2 separate regions of the Homo sapiens genome follow, and region 2 is linked to region 1. The links are contacts of gene promoters, found by promoter capture Hi-C in human tissues and cell types (Jung and others, 2019). All regions are on one chromosome and are shown on one strand. Each heading gives the region's core, a stretch centred on a gene start or on the middle of the fragment in contact. The rest is flanking DNA. Distances are from core to core; before and after follow the strand shown. Region 1 holds the start of POPDC2 (popeye domain cAMP effector 2). Region 2 overlaps ARHGAP31 (Rho GTPase activating protein 31).

What was found. Contacts are between HindIII fragments. The study calls those that stand out against the background at their distance.
Region 2: a contact is called between a fragment that was not itself captured here and the fragment with the promoter of POPDC2 in region 1, in 1 of the 25 tissues and cell types used here (bladder).

The regions. Positions count from the first base shown.
Region 1 is chr3:119,658,975-119,661,847 of GRCh38, forward strand. It overlaps POPDC2 (popeye domain cAMP effector 2), which reads right to left and starts at 1,615. Exons shown (of 4, transcript NM_001369919.2): 1 at 959-1,615. The coding sequence starts at 1,449. The HindIII fragment of the contact is 12,678 bases long and covers 1,175-2,873 here.
Region 2 is chr3:119,304,828-119,307,866 of GRCh38, forward strand. All of the region lies in intron 1 of ARHGAP31 (Rho GTPase activating protein 31), which reads left to right. Among named protein-coding and RNA genes, the nearest start is that of ARHGAP31, 12 kb to the left of the region's middle. RefSeq lists a silencer at 495-789. The HindIII fragment of the contact is 3,759 bases long and covers 1-3,039 here.

The DNA.
Region 1 (2,873 bases), core at 365-2,864:
TCACATTCTCCTGGTCTCAAGAAAGCTGGTGGAGTGGGGGTTGTGGGGCTCAAGAGCCACTAGGGCAGTATAAAAAAATCCACAATTGCCTACTAAGTGTGTAGCACAGAGCCCCGTGATGTTTTCTCAGAAGAAATCAATGCCCAACATTCACATCCAGGTTGACTGGGCATACACTGATCCTGACTAAGACCATTTCTGCCCATATCTGACTGTCAGCCTTCTCCAAAAGAGGCGGTGCTTCCACAAAAGCCTTGATGAGATAGGTGTATCACTTCTCTTCTCCCATTGTTGGGCCCTCAGATTTACAGTACTGTACTTGACTTCTTAGTCTTCAAGAACCTCAATAGAACAACTGGAAATGGAAAGGTGGGCAAGGGGTATTCACTCTCCCTACCTGGCTACATACAGCTACCCCAAACACAAGTGGGGCTGTTTGCTTGATGCCTTGGCAGGGAACAGGGGTTATGAGAACCACCCCGCTATCCCGACCTCCCATTTCTGGCATTGTTCCCTGAATACAGTTGGTGCTTAGCAAATGTTGAATTTGAGTAAGGAACAGATTAACCTTATTGAAATGTTAGTTTTTCAAAGCTTACAGAGATATTGCTGCAGCTTAGGCATGACACACTGATATGTGTGTGGTGATGGTAGAGGGGTTATTTAAGGCCCAGGCTCAAGACACACGCACTGCACACCTTCCAGCAGCAAGTGCACATACAATCATTCTTGCCAACCAAGATGCCTCATGAACTGGTTTCTTCTTGGAAAATGCCAAGAAAGAGGAAGCAACCCCACTCTTAGAAAAATCTATTTTGGTTTGTTTGACTTGTCACATCCTTCCCTCAATGGAAGGGGACACGAAATGGAAAGGGACATGAAATGGAAAGGGACACACTAGGAAATGAGAAGTGTGGGCTGGGGAAAGAAATTCTGGGCAATGGATAGAGTAGCTTACCGGCCAGAGAGCAGCAGGGACAGGCGGTTGATGGGTGTCTCACCCTCCACAGCATAGGTCTGTTCAGTGGCCAGAGTTAAGACCTGCTCCTCGCAGCAGTGAACAATCTCCTTGTATGTCTGTAGGGGCACCTGCAAGGGCAGGCACAGCGTCTTGTAGAGGAGGTCAAACTCCTCAGGGAGGGTGTCCTCACGCAGGCGGTATACCAGGTGTGCCAGCTGGAGCAGGCAGACCACAGCCAGCAGGAAGCTCCAAAGAACAATGTCCAGGCCACAGGCACTGAACCAGCCCCACAGCACGCAGCACAGGTAACCTGCACTCAGGAAGCCAAAAAGATAGAAGCATCCATACACCCCACTGCCCCCCATGAAGCCCAGGAGTAAGAGGCAGTTGGCTAGGTGGTAGACAGCCCCTTCCACATCCTGCTTCCACCTAATGCACGCTGAACCCTGCAAGAGAAGCTGGCCCACTCTGCTGCTGTTGGCGCTCATCTTTGGGGCCTCTCAAAGCCTCACTGGGCTCTAATACTGTCCTCACATAGGAAATTCAGAAAATGAATGAATCCATCCGCTCAGGGGTCTTCTCACCTCCGGCTTCTCACTACCGACTCCACCTTTCCTAGAAGGAATGCTTCCGGTGGCTTTGGGAAGGAATGATGGAACATAGTACACTTCATGGAGAATTTAAAAACCTCTTTCTCTCTCTCTCTCTCTCTCCCCCTCTCCCCCCCTCTCTCCTCCCCACCACCCCCGCTGTCTCAGCAAGGCTCTGGCTCTCCCTGCAGAGCTCTGGCAAGCTTCCTTGGTTCCATGTTTCTTGGGAGTCTTCAAATTTGGTTCTTAGCAGAAAAACCTAAATAGTCCCAAGGGAAAGTAGCACTACAGGACTGAAAAGTCCAGCAGCGTGGGATGATGCGGCCACATCCTGCTCTCTGTTTTTCCCAAGCAGAATGAGGAGAGCCAGCATGGGAGGCACATTTGTGTTCCATTTGGAATGTGTTCTCTCTTGGCACCGGAAGAAAGGGTGACCCCAGATGGATACCATGTTTGGAATTGGAATCCAAGAGGTACTGGCAGTGAGAAAAAACAGGCCAGGCACAGGCAGCCTGGCAGAGCACTTAACATACCTCCCAGAGGACAAGATAAGACCTCAGGGTCAGAGAGACAGACAAGGAGAGAGAAAGGAAAAGTGAGCACAGAATTCACCTGAACACCTCAGGCAGGAAACTGTCCCGAGCTCCCTTTGGGGAGAGCCAGACAGTGCTTCTGAGTGAGGACACATCAGAGTAGGAAAGTATGGGACTATTATCAGAAAAAATCCTAACAGTGAAAGCTGGAAAACCCCCTGAAGGCCTTTATTAAGTCACACTGCAAATATCATTATGTATTTATTTGACATCCATTTAACAAAAGTAGCTATGTAAAGTGGCTTTTTGAATTCTAAGCTGGCTTTCCCCTGCATATATCTGGATCTGGTAATAGTAAACAAATAATAATACATTGCCCAGATCATCATCCCACCCACTCCGGTGCTTCCAAATTATAATTCCCACCTATTAAACACCCATGAAGTGCCAAACCTAGATTAGGCATTTTATACACTTATAAGTTAGTTGTGACAACAATCCTTCAAAATAAATATTATTCTCCTTCTAGATCTGGAAGAAACTGAGGCTCAGAGAGGTAACAAGCTCCCACAGATGGTCTAAGTGGCAGAGCCAGGATTTGAACCCAAGTCTGTCAAACTTAATACTCTGTCCCAAGGGGTTTGCCAGTAAGTGGAAGTACAGTACTAGATCCATGACTCCCAACTCCACACTTCTATGAAGTCTGACAATTTTCAAGGAACTTCTGGTTGAACCTAGGAATCTACTTTGGGCTGCCAAGAGATAAAGCTGGAGTATGCAAACATTAGG
Region 2 (3,039 bases), core at 367-2,866, 350 kb before region 1:
CAGGTTTCACTGACCCAAGATGGCGCTACTGCAATCCAGCCTGAGTGACAGAGTGAGACTCTGTCTCAAAATAAAATAAAATAAAATAAAATAAAATAAAATAAAATAAAATAAAACTTTTAAAAAATGGTGCTAACTGACCCTCTGTTTCTTGATTAAATCTATCTGTATGGCATAAATGTCCAACTGCAGAGTCTTCCACTATATGGAAAGTTCTGTTTTGTCCCCATCTTATGAAGAAGGACCAACTCAGAGAGGTTAAGTAACTTGCCTCCTGTCACCCAGCCAGGAAGCGGCAGAAGCAAGACTCCAGCTGTGTCTGTGCAACATTAAATTCTCCTTCCATGGCTTTGTCTGCTCTTGACCCAACGAGACACAGCTATGCTAGCAGTAAAACAGGTCTGATATGCAGAGCTCCATTTTGCCATGCATTGCCAAGGTGATAAGTTCAGTAGGATTTAGTTAGACTTAATAAAACTTCTGGCAATTGAGTTCCCATCCCCAGTTTTTCAAAGTAAAACACTTAGGTTCCAAATGGCAGGATTCTAAACAGAGAGCATGCCCTGTTACCATAAGTAGCCCCTTCCACCACTTCTTTCCCATCTGTTTCCTGCATGCTGGGTATTATTGGGAAACAATGATGTCAACTCTTCCATATAAATCTACACCTCCCTGCCAGCCCCTCCCCTACAATGCATATTTTTGTTCCTCTTTCTGGCTTTTGTCTTGCTGTTCTGCTAAGGACTCATACTTTTGGCGACAATTGTTGGCTTTCTTTTTAACAAGTTTTAGCTATTTAAGCTTTATTGTGGCCTTCAAAGTGCACATGCTTTTTGGGGCCTATATTTGGAAGATCCTTTGTTTGGCTAATAGCTAGAATATGAGCTTGGTGCTAATGGAGAAGAGCCATGTTGCTTTCTGGAAAAGCAAAGCCAAATGCAGGTCTCTGAATCAAGCTCAGAGCTGAGGACAGAAACGCTGCTTGGGTTGGGGGCCCTCTGAGGCTGCATTAAAGCTGTAGCTGCCCTGGACACAGAGCCTATAGCTAAAGGCCAGGAGAATATCCCCTTCAGGTAATCTGTAAACGTCCTGTTTTCCCCCCTCCTAAGCCTGACTTCCAAATGGGGCATGGTTTCCTCAGTTTTCCTTTCTTTAGTAACTCTAAAGACAATTTGGTTTCAGATGGAAAGGAGGGCTAGTTCTCTGGGTACAGTATGAGTTTTAAATTCAGAGTCCGAGAATTCTGGACCTCTCTTGTTAATCCTTGGGCAGCATTTCTCAAACTTTACTGGGCATAAGAAAGACTAAAAATGTAATTCTTGCTTTTAAATTTTAATTTTAAAATTAAATATTAGTCAATTTTAGTATACTACTAGAGATACTCTTCAAATCCAGTTTTGGACTCCTTGAGACAAAATGGACATCTAGTAAAAGTTTTCAAATGGGGCCGGGTGTGGTGGCTCAGGCCTGTAATCATAGCACTTTGGGAGGTTAGGTGGGTGGATCACTTGAGGTCAGGAATTCAAGACCAGCCTGGCCAACATGGTGAAACCCCATCTCTACTAAAAAAATTACAAAAATTAGCTGGGCATGGTGGCGCGTGCCTGTAATCCCAGCTACATGGGAGGCTGAGGCACGAGAATTGCTTGAACCTGGGAGGTGGAAGTTGCAGTAAGCCGAGATCGCACCACTGCACTCTAGCCTGGGGGACGGTGTGAGACTTTGTCTCAAAAAAAAAGTTTTCAAACGGGTATTTGCATAGGTTGTGTAATGTCTGGGTCGATGGAGAACATATGATTCTACCGAATGGGTTCCATAGTTTATAGGGCAGCAAGCTGTAAAGTGCTGCTGCAAGTCAGGATTCTGAGGTCCAGTTCCTCAGGGATTTTACTTTTGTTGGTCTGGGGTGGGAAATCCACATTTTAAAGATGAGCTCCAGGTGATCTAATATCCTTGGCCTACTGATCTCACTTTGAGAAACACTGACTTAGCACACAGAAAGAAGCAGCTATGTGAAACGACACGATTTTTATTTTCTTCATTATACTTTTATATTGCCCAACATTTCAACACTGAAGATACATTTTTATCTTTTAAATCAGAAAGAAACATTTCTAAAATTATTTTAGGAATAGTGTGTCTTGAGTCATTGGCTTTTTCATAAATGCCCTTTGTTTCAATCTTTATTTTTAGAAAAAAAAAACTAAGTCTGTTAGTTTTTTTTTTCATGCCTTAATAGATCCAGTATAGTGAAACCAATTAACCTATCCGCAGTGTGTAGCAGGGTGGTTGAGCATATGGTTTGTTTGCTGATAGACTACCATGATTCAAATTCCAACTCTACCACATGCTAGGTTTGTGACCATGGACAAGCTACCAAACCTCTCTATGCCTCAGTTTCTTCATCTGTAAAGTGGAGATTATGATGATAATGGTACCTACCACATAGAGCCATTATGAGCATTAAAGCAACTAGTGCACTGTTTGGAATTTAGTAAACCTTCCATACCTATTAACTATGGTTATCATTTCCTTGAGGATTGGAAATCTTACCGTGTTTCAGCCTTATTACTAAAAGTATGGTTCCTCGGTTATGCTATAGATGTGGAAGTTGAGAAAGCTGAGAACAAATATTCCAAGGCCCCCATCTATCCCTAGGGGTTTCTTTCTCTAAGAAATTCTCTTGTATGTACACAATTATTTATTTCCCTTGGGTGGATGTATAAAAATGCTAGTTTTAAGATTCTAATCTGTTGATAAATATATCTGGGGTGGGAATGTGGCAAACTTTCTAAGTTTTATATTTCTTTAGCAATTAGAAAAAGAAAATAATCTAAAAATAATTCTTCCTCCCTTATAAAGTTTATGATAAAAAGGCTATAATCACAGTGACAGCCATCTAGCCTGCTAGTTTCCATCTGTATTTCAGGAGAGTTATAAATCTGGCAATCAAGTCTGTTTCCATCATTGATGGAACAATGTAAGTCCTGGATTTTTGCTGGGCCATAAGACATCTCACATATGCCTATTTATTTGCCC